Linked DNA regions of Homo sapiens: region 2 is linked to region 1. The links are contacts of gene promoters, found by promoter capture Hi-C in human tissues and cell types (Jung and others, 2019). All regions are on one chromosome and are shown on one strand. The core of a region is centred on a gene start or on the middle of the fragment in contact, and the rest is flanking DNA. Distances in the headings are between cores, read along the strand shown. Region 1 holds the start of OR4D11 (olfactory receptor family 4 subfamily D member 11). Region 2 overlaps PATL1-DT (PATL1 divergent transcript).

What was found. The method cuts DNA at HindIII sites, captures the fragments that hold promoters and counts their contacts. A contact is called where the count stands out against the background at its distance.
Region 2: a contact is called between a fragment that was not itself captured here and the fragment with the promoter of OR4D11 in region 1, in 1 of the 25 tissues and cell types used here (adrenal gland).

What each region holds. Positions count from the first base shown.
Region 1 is chr11:59,501,078-59,507,699 of GRCh38, reverse strand. OR4D11 (olfactory receptor family 4 subfamily D member 11) reads right to left here and starts at 4,124. Exons shown (of 1, transcript NM_001004706.1): 1 at 3,189-4,124. The coding sequence starts at 4,124. The coding sequence ends at 3,189. The HindIII fragment of the contact is 13,495 bases long and covers 1,594-6,622 here.
Region 2 is chr11:59,675,116-59,681,737 of GRCh38, reverse strand. It overlaps PATL1-DT (PATL1 divergent transcript), which reads right to left. Exons shown (of 4, transcript NR_187296.1): 4 at 5,697-6,341. Among named protein-coding and RNA genes, the nearest start is that of PATL1-DT, 9.1 kb to the right of the region's middle. RefSeq lists an enhancer at 860-1,360. The HindIII fragment of the contact is 4,352 bases long and covers 1,774-6,125 here.

The DNA.
Region 1 (6,622 bases), core at 2,875-5,374:
AAGTCAGGAAACAACAGGTGCTGGAGAGGAAGTGGAGAAATAGGAACACTTTTACACTGTTGGTGGGACTGTAAACTAGTTCAACCATTGTGGAAGTCAGTGTGGCGATTCCTCAGGGATCTAGAACTAGAAATACCATTTGACCCAGCCATCCCATTACTGGGTATAAACCCAAAGGACTATAAATCATGCTGTTATAAAGACACATGCACACGTATGTTTATTGCGGCATTATTCACAATAGCAAAGACTTGGAACCAACCCAAATGTCCAACAATGATAGACTGGATTAAGAAAATGTGGCACATATACACCATGGAATACTATGCAGCCATAAAAAATGATGAGTTCATGTCCTTTGTAGGGACATGAATGAAATTGGAAATCATCATTCTCAGTAAACTATCGCAAGAACAAAAAACGAAACACCGCATATTCTCACTCATAGGTGGGAATTGAACAATGAGATCACATGGACACAGGAAGGGGAATATCACACTCTGGGGACTGTTGTGGGGTGGGGGGGGCAGGGATAGCGTCGGGAGATATACCTAATGCTAGATGACGAGTTAGTGGGTGCAGCGCACCAGCATGGCACATGTATACATACGTAACTAACCTGCACAATGTGTACATGTACCCTAAAACTTAAAGTATATATAAAAAAGAAACCTTTCTTTCTAGTTATAAGCATTCTACATAAAATGTAAATAAAAATAAAAGATTAAATTGTAAAAAAAAAAAAGTTTACAAAAAAGCTTTCCTGGGACTTCGGTAAGAATTGCATTAAACTTATACATTTTGGGAGAATTGGGATCTTTACTATGTTGAATCATCCAGTCCATGAACACAGTATGCTTCTCCACTTGTTTAGGTCTTGATTGATTTCTTTCATCAACATTTTGTAATTTCCAGCATACACAGTCTATACATTTTTTTGTTGTTTATAACTAAGTATTTCATTTTTAGTGACTATTAATGGTGTTGTTTTTAATTTTGGTTTGCACATGTTTATTGTCGGTATACAGAAATATGATTGATCTCTGTACATTGGTCTTGTATCCTAAGACCTTGCAGAAGTCATTTATTAGTCCTAAGAGTATTTTTCTATATTTTCTTGACAATGTGGACAATTGTGTTATCTGTATGATTTCTTCCTTTTTAAACTTTTCTTTTGTTAAAAAAAAAAGAAAGCTAGACATTTTAACATGATGGATGTTTTGAACTCAATATACATTTTCATGTTTTCTACTCAACCAGTTTTTATCTAAAAATAAGGAGTATGGGTCATATAGGAAAAGGGTGTTACAGGCCAATGGGAAACAGAAGGCGTGTTAGGTAAAGCAATAAAGGTGATATTAATAATGACATTTATCTTTGGTTGCACATTTATTCTCTGCCAGGTATCATATATTTCATGTATACCATCTCATTTTGTCCTTTACAACAACCTCATGAGATGGATATTATAACGAGAATCTTTGCGTAGGTGAACTATGACCTTTGGAGAGAGAGGTGAAATAACTTGCTCAAGATCGCACAGCTGGTGGATGGCAGAGATAGGATTCATACCTGGGTCTGTATGACTCTGAAATTAGAGCTTTCATCCACCATGCTTTACTGCTCTCCCAGATAATAACACTAGCCTATACTGCCTCTTCACAAACACTAGAAGTTTGAAAAAATAGACCGGGTAGAGTTTTTTCTTCTTAAACTCTCCCATTCTCTCTTTCCAGTGAAAAGAAATGTGAATTCTCAATGGTGAGGCCAAGGCAAAACTGACCCTTGTAAGGCTGCAACTGGAAAATCGGTCCTTTGATGGTAGAGATAAATTGCTTCATGTGTGTGGTTTCTGAAGTTTTGCCTTTATCCAAACTCATCATGAGAATGTGTGGCATGTCTAGTTCTGCATTAAGATATATACCTTTAGGCCATGATGAGAAATCTTCCCAAGCCTCATCAATCTTGATAGGAATCCAGGAGGATAACCATTATGTTCCTATGAAGTTCTCAGTAGCTCATGAGCCCACTTTAGTTTAATTCAGCAGAGGCCAATTTCTCAATCTGCAATAGGCTATGCATACCCACATATATGTACTCCAGAGGCATTGATCATGAGATCCTTCTGGAACAGGATTATAGTTTGGTATAGACAGGTCCAACAATGTAATAAATTACATTCATGTGGTGGAAGAACAATGGGTTGAGCATCTGAAGATGTCTCTGTAATTAACTTAATATAAGACCTTGAACACATCACTTTATCTCTCTGGGCTTTTATTTCCTTATCTTCTGAAAAAAATGTTGGACTTAATCATCTTATCTGCCTGCCATATAGCTGTCTTGATTGACATAAGGTTACTTGGTCTTTGGAAAAGTAACAGTCAGTTCACTCCTATAACACTAGTTAGTTCATGCTGCACAGAAGCTTAGGTTATCAGTTATCTACTAACTGAAATAGGAAGACAAATTGTTCATAGTCAGTATAGTTGGTTTACTGACAATGTATCTGAGTATGTAAATGTGAATTCATGGGAAAAATAATATAAGGTGTCCTTGGTGATGAAGAGCTGAATTTGTTTTCTTTTCTTTTTTTTTTTTTTTGAGACAGAGTCTCACTGTGTTACCAGGTTGGAATGCAGTGGCGCGATCTCGGCTCACTGCAACCTCTGCCTCTTGGGTTCAAGTAATTCTCCTGCCTCAGCCTCCCGAGTAGCTGGGACCACAGGCGCCTGCCACCACGCCCAGCTAATTTTTTGTATTTTTAGTAGAGACGAGGTTTCACCGTGTTAACCAGGATGGTCTCGATCTCCTGACCTCGTGATCTGCCCGCCTCGGCCTCCCAAAAAAATTACAGGCATGAGCCACCGCGCCCGGCCTCTTTTTTTTTTTTTTTTTGAGATGGAGTCTTGCTGTGTTGCCAGGCTGGAATGCAGTGACGCAATCTTGGCTCACTGCAACCTCTGCCTCCTGGGTTCAAGTAATTCTCCTGCCTCAGCCTCCTGGTAGCTGGGACTACAGGTGCGCACCATCATGCCCAGCTAATTTTTGTATTTTTAGTAGAGACAGGGTTTCACCATGTTGGCCAGGATGGTCTCGATCTCTTGACCTCATGATCCACCCGCCTTGGCCTCCCAAAGTGCTGGGGTTACAGCTGTGAGCCACCGCGCCTGGCCTGGATTTGTTTTCTATTCCCTTTCAGAAGGCACGAGTCTTCTCTTCAGTCTTCTCATGGCTGACTTCATTTCCTGGTTCCTCAGAGTGTAGATCAAAGGGTTCAGCAGAGGGGAGATGACAGTGAAGGTGACAGAGATGGCCTTTTCTGTGGGGAGGGCAGTGAAGGGCCGGGCATAGACATAGATGCAGGGCACAAAATGCAGGGTCACCACAGTGATGTGGGAGGTGCAAGTGGAGATGGCTTTCCTCCTGCCCCCTCCTGCCTGAGACCTCAGCGTCATTAGGATGACTGTGTAGGACACAAGCAGGAAGATAAACCACAGGGTAGTGACCAGGCCATTGTTGGAAATCATCAAGAACTCAAGAGCAAAAGTGTCAGTGCAAGTGAGTTTGAGGACCTGGGGGACATCGCAGTAGAAAGTGTCAAGAACATTGGGTCCACAGAAAGGGAGAGGCAGCAACAGGGAGATCTGCACGATGGAGTGGACAAAGCCCCCCATCCAAGAGGCAGAGATGAGGGCAGTGCATTGCCCTCTACTCATGATGGTCACATAGTGCAGGGGCTTGGAGATGGCCATGTAGCAGTCAAACGCCATCACAGAGAGAGAAAAAATGTCTGCCCCACCAAGGAGGTGGAAGAGAAATATCTGTGTCATGCAGCTTGTATAGGATATGGTCTTTTTCTTTGACAGAAGGTCCAGCAAGACTTTAGGAGCAGTTGTGGAGGAGAAGCAGATGTCAAGGATGGCTAGATTGCGGAGCAGGAAGTACATGGGGGTGTGAAGGCGAGACTCACAGGTCACGGTGACCATGATGAGGAGGTTTCCCAGCAGAGTCGTCATGTACACAAGACATAAAAAAAGAAACAAGACCAAACTCTGGTCTTGGGATTGAGTAAGTCCCAGAAATATAAATTCTTTTACTCTGGTGACATTTCCCAACTCCATTGAATCATGTTTTCTCTTTCCTGAATATCTTGGAAAAAATAATGTTATTTCAGAAAGTGTTTACTCTCTCTTAACAGATTCAAGTATTAGGTCTGAAAACTTGTGAGATATTACAATTTCAAGTTTATTGCCAATGCATGTAAAATGACATCTTATTATACAATCATGCATACACTTATATAAATTACAATTTTAAAAAATGTATAAAAATAATGTTGCAGTTATTCAAGATACTTAGGACATTATTCAAGATAAACAGAGGGGGATATTAATTATTTAGAAAGAGACTATTGTGGCATGGGAAATATAAAAATGGGATTAGTTTGTTGTGAGAATAAGGCAGTGCTTACTTTGTGTGACTAGAACACCTTGAGTTTCACAGGGCTGAGGATTTTGTTGTTTTTTCCCAGACTGGATGCTCCATTTAAATGGTTCTAAGAACCCCTGTCTGCAAAGAGGCCCCCCACTGGATTGAATTGTATGGAAGCAGCACCCCTCTCTTCTTAAATCACAAACTTATTTCCATGAAAAATTAGAAAATGTTTAAGCCATAAAATTTGTTTCTATTGCTCTATTCTTCTTTAAGGGGACTGCTTTGTTTCTTTCTTTACTTTAATCTACTTTAGGTACTGAAACCCCGGGGTGGTGAATAGCTCCTTAGCAATGGAAATAAAAATATTACTCAGAGCTTCTCTTCTGTTGTTTCAATTTCTTTCTTAAAAAATAATTTTTGTTGAGCTATCATTGACATACCATAGACTGCACATATTTGAATTCACACTTCGATAATGTTTTTTTTTTTTTTTGAGACAGAGTCTTACTCTGTCGCCCAGGCTGGAGTGCAGTGGCGTGATCTCGGCTCACTGCAACCTCTGCCTCCCAGGTTCAAGTGATTCTCCCACCTCAGCCTCCTGAGTGGCTGGGATTAAAGGCGTGTGCCGCCACGCCTGGCTAATTTTTGTATTTTCAGTAAAGACAGGGTTTCACCATATTGGCCCAGCTGGTCTCGAAATCCTGACCTTGTGATCCACCCACCTCGGCCTCCCAAAGTGCTGGGATTACAGGCATGAGCCACTGCTCCCGGCTGATAAGTTTTGACATATATACCTGTGACACCATCTCTATAGTTAAGAGAGTGAATATATCTATCACCCAGAAAATGTCCTTGTGCCCCTTTGTAGCCTGTCCCCTTTACCCTTCCTTCTTCAGGCAACAACTGATCTGCTTTCTGTCATTATACATTAGTTTGTATTTTCTATAATATTCTATAAGTGAAATTCTACTATTTGTATTTTCTTCTTGTCTGCCTTCTTTCAACCATGAAATTCATCCGTTGTTTTGTGTGTACTGCTATTTTGTTCCTTTCTATTGTATGAATATACCACAGTTTGCTTATCCACTCACTTGTAGGTGAACATTTGGGTTATTTGTGGCTTCTGAATATTACTCATAAAGCTGCTATGAACATTCACATTTGGGTCTTTGTGTGGACATATGTTTTCAGTTCTCTTGGGTAAGTAGCTAGGAGTGGAATGGCTGTAACTCTTAACATTCAATAGTATGAGAACAAACAACCAATTAAGCAACAAGGACAAATTATTTTAACAAAATGAAGTCACTAAAAGAAGTTAAAAAAAAAGAAGAGAAAAAAGGACAAATTATTTGAACAGACACTTCAGCAAGAAGACACAGAGAGAGCAAATAAGCACATGAAAAGGCTCAACATCATTTATCACTGAGAAAATATAAATTGAAACCACGTTGTAATTTAAAAATAGTATACATTAGAGTCACTGGAATGAAAAAGATTGATATATCAAGAGTGGACAAAGATGTAGACCAATGGAACTCCAGTAGGAATGTAAAATGGTACAATCAATTTGAAAATATTTTGGCAGTTTTTTTTTTTTTTAGATGGAGTCTTGCTCTGTCACCCAGGCTGGAGTGCAGTGGCACAATCTTGGCTCACAGCAACCTCTGCCTCCCAGGTTCAAGCGATTCTCCCACCTCAGCCTCCTGAGTAGCTGGGATTACAGGCTCCCACCACCATGCCCAGCTAATTTTTGTATTTTTAATAGAGGCAGGGTTTCACCATGTTGGCCAGGCTGGTCTTGAAATCCTGACCTCAGGTAATCCATCCGCCTTGACCTCCCAAAGTGCTGGGATTACAGGCATGAGCCACCGCGCCTGGCTGGCAATTTTTTAAAAAACTGTTACACATACACTTACCTTATAACTGTGTTGCTTTTGAATTCCTTTCTTTCTTTCTTTCTTTTTTTTTTTGGTAAATCTTTGTAATGGGCCTTATTTTCTTTCTTCCTAGTTTATCTCCTTTTTCTTTCCATAATTAGAAACAAATGAAGGGCAAAAGTCCCTTTTTTCCCGTTCTTTGGGTGTGTTCTCCAATTTAAATGAAGATATTTCTTCTCACTTAGCTCGCTTTGTCTTCAAGTTTTCTTTCCTCTCTAGGCAATTTTGTCCAAAATCTATTTAATGGG
Region 2 (6,622 bases), core at 2,700-5,199, 170 kb before region 1:
TCACCTCCAGCCAGAAGACAGTTTTCTCCTATCTCAGTAAATCGGGTTTTACACCAAGATATTCCATTCCCAGGGAGGAGCAGGAGACAGATGCCTTCCTCTTATCTCAACTGCAAAGAGGCCTTCCTCTTTTACTAATCCTCCTCAGCACAGACCCTTTATGGGTGGCGGGCTGGGGGACATTCAGGTCTTTCCCTTCCCACGAGGCCATATCTCAGGCTATCACATGGGGAGAAACCCTGGACAATACCTGGCTTTCCTAGGCAGAGGTCCCTGCGGCCTTCCGCAGTGTATTGTGTCCCTGGGTACTCGAGATTAGAGAACGGTAATTACTTTTACCAAGCATACTGCCTTTAAGCACTTTTTTAACAAAGCATATCCTGCACAGCCCTAAATCCATTACACCTTGAGTCAACACAGCACAATTATCTGCAAGCACAGGGTTGGGGCTAGGGTTACAGATTAACAGCATCTCAAGGCAGAAGAATTTCTCCTAGTACAGAACAAAATAGAGTCTCTTAAGTTTACTTTTTTCTACATAGACACAGTAACAGTCTGATCTCTCTTTTCCCATTTTCAAATAACCTATCTTCAAGTTCACAGATTCTTTCCTCTGCTTAATTCTGCTATTGATGCTCTCTACTAATATTTTTTAATACTCATTGTATTTTTTAGCTCCTAGATTTCTGGGTTTTTTTTAATTGCAATATCTCTGTTAAATTTCTCTGGTAAATTTTTGAATTGTTTCTCTGTGTTTTCTTGAAGTTCCCTTTAGGGTCAGTCACTGGCATCTTATTTTGTTTGGTGAGGTCAAATTTCCCTGCTTATTCTGGATGCTTGCAGATGTGCGTCAATGTCTGTGTATTAGGTATTTATTCTAGTCTTTGCATTCTGGCTTTGTTTGTGCCTGTTTTACTTCAATAGGCCTGTCTAGAAGTTCTAAGCAGCCTGACTTGTGATTCCTAAGCCTGTGGCTGTTGCAGCCACTTCAGCACTAGAGGGGGCCCTAAGCCCAGGTTCATCACAAGTTTTGCAAGGGCTTTGAGGCTGACACAGCACCCAAGCCAGGATGGACCTGAGGAAGATTGAAGGAAGGTACCTAGGCTGTATAGATAAGCTAGCCAGGGACCCAAGCCCAGAAGACTGTCCCAGTGGCCTGGACAGACACCCCTCCCAGCAGTTCCCTGCACAGGCAGGACAATCCCCACATGTGGAAAGAGGGGCTGGAGCTGAGACTGGGCCCCCTCAAGGGCCCCCATGGAACAGAGGTCAGCAAACCCATCCCATTGGCTTAGGTGGGTGTGGGGCCAGACTTGAGACTGGGTCTCAGAATCTGCTGTTGGACAGAGACTGGAAAGCCCATTGCAGAGGCTCAGATGAATGGGTAACTCCTGTGAGATATGGGCAACTTTCCCTTTGGGAAGCAATTTCCCAGCAAGTAGTACTAAGCTGGGACCACAGCTGAGGAGGGGTGGAGACGAGCCACAAGGCAACTTTCAGGTCCAAGCTGCGAAGACCAACGTCAGCAGGCAGATGAGCCTTCCCTGCTGAGGCACTGGTGTGCATGATTCTTCCTGAACCCCCTGGCAGATGGTTTTGGTGGTAGCCTCAAGGCCAGTAGGGGCTGTTGCCAAGCCCCTTGGGGAATGAGGCCATTTCCCCAGGCTTGAATCTGGGAGCACAGTTGATGGGTCTGCCAACAGGGTATGGGTCTGCACTCTCAAAATCACCCTCCTAGGTCTTAGGCTCCATTGGGCTTCCACAACTTTCTACCTGAATCGTGAGGCTTCCACAAAGAGACTTTTTTGTCTGGATGGGTGAAGAATTCTTATTGTTGGGGGATAAAAGCAGGTGACCTCCTATACCACCATCTTGCTGACATCATTCCAACCCTAGAATCTATTTATCTGTCCAGAAAATTTGCCATGATTAAAAGGTCTGTTGTTCTTCTTCAAGTAGGCTGTGGTGGTTCTATAAAATATGTCCACAAATTCTTTGAAACTCCTCCCTTTACACAGTGGAGCCTAATTCCTCTCCCTTTGAATATGGGTTGTACCTAGTAACTTATTTCTAGTACATAGAATGTGGCAGAAGTGACAGTGTGTGACTTCTGAGGGTGGGTCATAAAAGATATTGTGGCTTTAGCTTCTACCTCAGATTACTCACTGTAAAAGAAGCTACCATGTCCTGAGGACAATCAAGAAGCCCTATGGAGATGCTAATGTAGTAAGGAACTGAGATCTCCTATGAACAGCCAGAGAGGAACTGACACCTCTTGCTAACAGCCATGTAAGTGAACCATCTTGAGGACAGATTCTCCACTGCTAGTCAAGACTTCAGGTGTCTGGAGCCCCAGCCAACATTCAGACTGCAATCTCCTGAAACACTCTGAGCCAGAACCACCTAGCTAAGCTGCTCCCAGTTCCTGACCCCCAAAATCTTTGTGAGATAATAACTTATTTTTGTTTTAAGTGCTTGTATTAGTCCATTTTCACACTCCTATAAAGAACTGCCCGGGACTGGGTAATTTACAAAGGAAAGAGGTTCAATTGACTCACAGTTCTGCATGGCTGGGGAGGCCTCAGGAAACTTACAATCATGGCGGAAGGTGAAGGGGAAGCAACGCACCTCCTTCACAAGGTGGTGGGACGCAGAATGAATGCAGGAGGAACTACCAAACACATAAAACCATCAGATCTTGTGAGAACTCACTTATTATGATGAGAACAGCATGAGGGAAACCACCCCCATTATTCAATTACCTCCAGCTGTTCTCTCCCTTGACATATGGGGATTATGGGGATTAAAATTCAAGATGAGATTTTGGGTGGGGATACAACCAAACCATATCACTGCTAAATTTTAGGGTAGTTTTGTATGCAGCAATATATAACTAACAGCATGTTAGTGAACATAGCCCCAGTTGTCTTGGGAGTTACTGAAATGAACACAGAAACCATTGACATAGTTCACCTAGTGACATCTTCATTATTCATCTCTAAGCAGCACATAAAACACAAACTTAAACCTTAAAATTTTTTCTCATTATACTACCAGAAATCATTTTTTATACCCCAATGACTCATACATACCACATACATACCATAGGCTAAAAAATGGCTCCCCAAATATTTCCATGTCCTAATTCCAAGAACCTGTGAATATATTATTTTACATGGTAAAAGGGATTTGGTAGATATGATTAAATTAAGAATCCTGAGATGGGGAGATTATCCTGTATTATCTGGGTGCACACAATGTTATCACAGGATCTTTATAACAAAGGAGCAGGAGAATTGAAGAGAAAAGTATGATAACAAAAGCAGAGAGAGAAAGAGTTTGGAAGATTTATGCTGCTGACTTTGAAAATGGAGGATAGGGCTACAAGCCAAGAAATGCAAGTAACCTCTGGAAGCTAAAAACAAACAACAAAAAACAAATTCTCCCCTAGTGGCCTCAAGGAAGAAATGTAGTTCTGTAACCCATTTTAAAATTCCGACCTATAGAAATATAATTTTGTTACAGAAACAACAACAACCTAACACCTCATTTTATTATACTTCACAGATAATTGTGTTTTTTACAAATCGAAAAATTTTGGCAACCTTACATTGAGCAGGTCTATCAGCACCATTTTCCCAACAGCATGTGTTCACTTCACGTCTCTGTCTCACATTTTGGTAATTCTCACAATATTTCAAACTTTTTATTACATCTATTATAGTGATATGTGTTCAGTCATCTTTAATGTTACTATTTTAATTGTTTTGGGGCACCAGGAACTGCACCCTTATAAGACGGTGAACTTACTAAGTGTTGTGTGTGTTCCACTGACTAGCTGTTCCCTCATCTTTCTCCCTCTCTTTGGGCCTCCCTATTCCCTGCGACACAACTATATTGAAATTAGGCCAATTAATAACCTCACAATCACCTTTAAGTGTTCAAGTGAAAGAAAGAGTCACACATCTCTCACTTTAAATCAAAAGCTAGAAATGATTAAGCTTAGTGAGGAAGGCATGTCAAAAGCAAGATGGGCCAAAAACTAGGCCTTTGGGCCAAGAAGCTAGCCAAGTTGTGAATGCAAAGGAAAAGCTCTTGAAAGGATTTAAAAATGCTACTCCAGTGAACATACAAATGGTAGGAAAGTAAAACAGCATTATTGCTGTTATGGAGAAACTTTCAGTGGTCTGGATAAAAGATCAAACTAGCCACAACATTCCCTTAAGCCAGATCCTAATCCAGACACCCTAACTCTCTCAATTCTATGAAGGTGGAGAGAGGTGAGGAAGCTGCAGAAGAAAAGTTTGGAGCTAGCAGAGCTTGGTTCATGAGGTTTAAGGAAAGAAGCCACCTCCATAACATAAAAGTACACAGTAAAGCAGCAAGTGCTTGATGTAGAAGCTCCAGCAAGTCATCCAGAAGATCTAGCTTCATCATTGATGAAGGTGGCTACATCAACAGATTTTCAATGCAGACAAAATGGCCTTATATTATTGGAAGAAGATACCATCTAGGACTTTCAATGCCTAGGTTCAAAGCTTCAAAGGGCAGGCTGACTCCCTTGTCAGGGGCTAGTGCAGCTGGTGACTTTAAGTTGAAGTCAATGCTTATTTGTCCTTCTAAAAAATCTTAGGTTCCTTAAGAATTATGCTAAATCTACCCGGCCTCTGCTCTGTAAATGAAACAATAAAGCCTGGATAGCAACAGCACATCCATTTACAGCGTGATTTACTGAATATTTAAAGCCCACTGCTGAAACCTACTACTCAAAAAAAAAAAAAAAAAAAAAAACTGGTTTATTTTAAAATACTACTGCTCATTGACAATGCAGCTGGTCACCCAAGAACTCTGATGGAGATGTACAAGATTAATCGTTTTCAGGCCTGCTAACACAACATCCATTCTGCAGCCCACACAGCAATTTCAACTTTCAAGTCTTATTATTTCAGAAATACATTTTGTAAGGCTATAGCTGTCATAGATAATGATTCCTTTGATGGATCTGGGCAAAAGAAATTGAAAACCTTCTGGATACTTCTGGATGACTAGATAAAGGAAAACAAAACAAAACAAAAAAACCTGGAAAGGATTTACCATCCTAAATGCCATTAAGAACATTTGTGAAGCCAGGTACAGGCAGCGTGGCGAAGCCCTGTCCCTACAAAAAATACAAAAATTAGCCGGGCATGATGGTGCCCGCCTATAGCCCCAGCTACTTGGGAGGCTGAGATGGGAGAATGGCTTGAGCCCAGGAGGTGGAGGTTGCAGTGAGTCGAGATCGTGCCACTGCACTTGTTTGCCCCCTGCCCGCAAAAAGAACATTTGTGAGTCATAGGAAGGGGTCAAAGTATCAACATTGTCATGGAAAAACTTAAACTGCATTTGTCCTCTGCTCTCACACCACAACAATCAACACAGAAGACTTCTGTGACCAAATATATGGGGGATTTTCCCCACCAACAAGCAGTGGAGACCAGCTGGGTATCCTCCAATTCGATTCTGACACTACCTGGAGATATGTCAGTTCCCACAGGTAAAGGGCTCAGTCCCCAAGATTACTCCCTCCTCCCCCCAGACACCAGTTGCAAGTCCAGGTCTCTGGAACTTCTGATCAATCAGCTTCAAGTTGAGGTTCCCATGACCCCCTCTTTGGGTTCAATAATTTGCTGGAGTGGCTCACAGAACTAAGGAAACACTTATATTTACCAGTTTATTATAAAGGATATCACGAAGGATCCAGATGAAGAGATGCACAGGGAGAGGTATGGAGGAAGGGACACGGAGCTCCCATGCCCTCCCCAGGTAGCCATTCCCCAGAAACCTCCACTTGTTCAGCTATCAGGAAGCTGTCCTCTTGGATTTTTATGGAAGCTTCATTATATCAGCATTCCTTCCCCCAGGCCATGGGTTGGGACCCTCTCTGAAATGAGTCTTATGATCCACAATTATAAAAGCAGAAGATTAGAGTCCTGCTTTGGGGTAGGTGAAAGGAAGGCAGGTAAAAGGAAGGCAAGAGAAGGTCAAAGAGATTCTGTTTCCTGTGTATGAAAACCTATATGTATATATATTTCATAACACTACAAACATTAACAGGACTTTGGAAGAAGTTGATTCCAACCCTCATGGATGACTTTGAGAGGTTCAAGACTTCGGTGGAGGAAGTCACTGCAGGTGCGGTGGAATACCAAGAGAACTAGAATTAGAAGTGGAGCCTGAAGATGTGACTGAATTCCTGCAATCTCATGATTAAACTTTTAACAGGTAAGGAGGTGCTTCTTATGCATGAGAAAAGAGTTTCCTTAAGATAGAATCTTCTCCCGGTGAAGATGCTGTGAACATTGCTGAAATGATAATAAAGGATTTAGAGTATTACACAAGCTTAGTTGATAAAGCAGTGTTTGAGAGAATTGCCTCCAATTTTGAAAGTTCTAATTCATGGGTAAAATGCCAAACAGCGCTGCATGCTACAGAGAAACTTTTCCGTCATGAAAGGAAAAGTCAATCGAGGTGGCTTACTTCCTTGTCTTATTTTAAGAAATTACCATAGCCACCCCAACCTTCAGCAACCACTGCCTTTATCAGTAAGCAGCTATCAACATCGAGGCAAGACCCTCCATCAGGA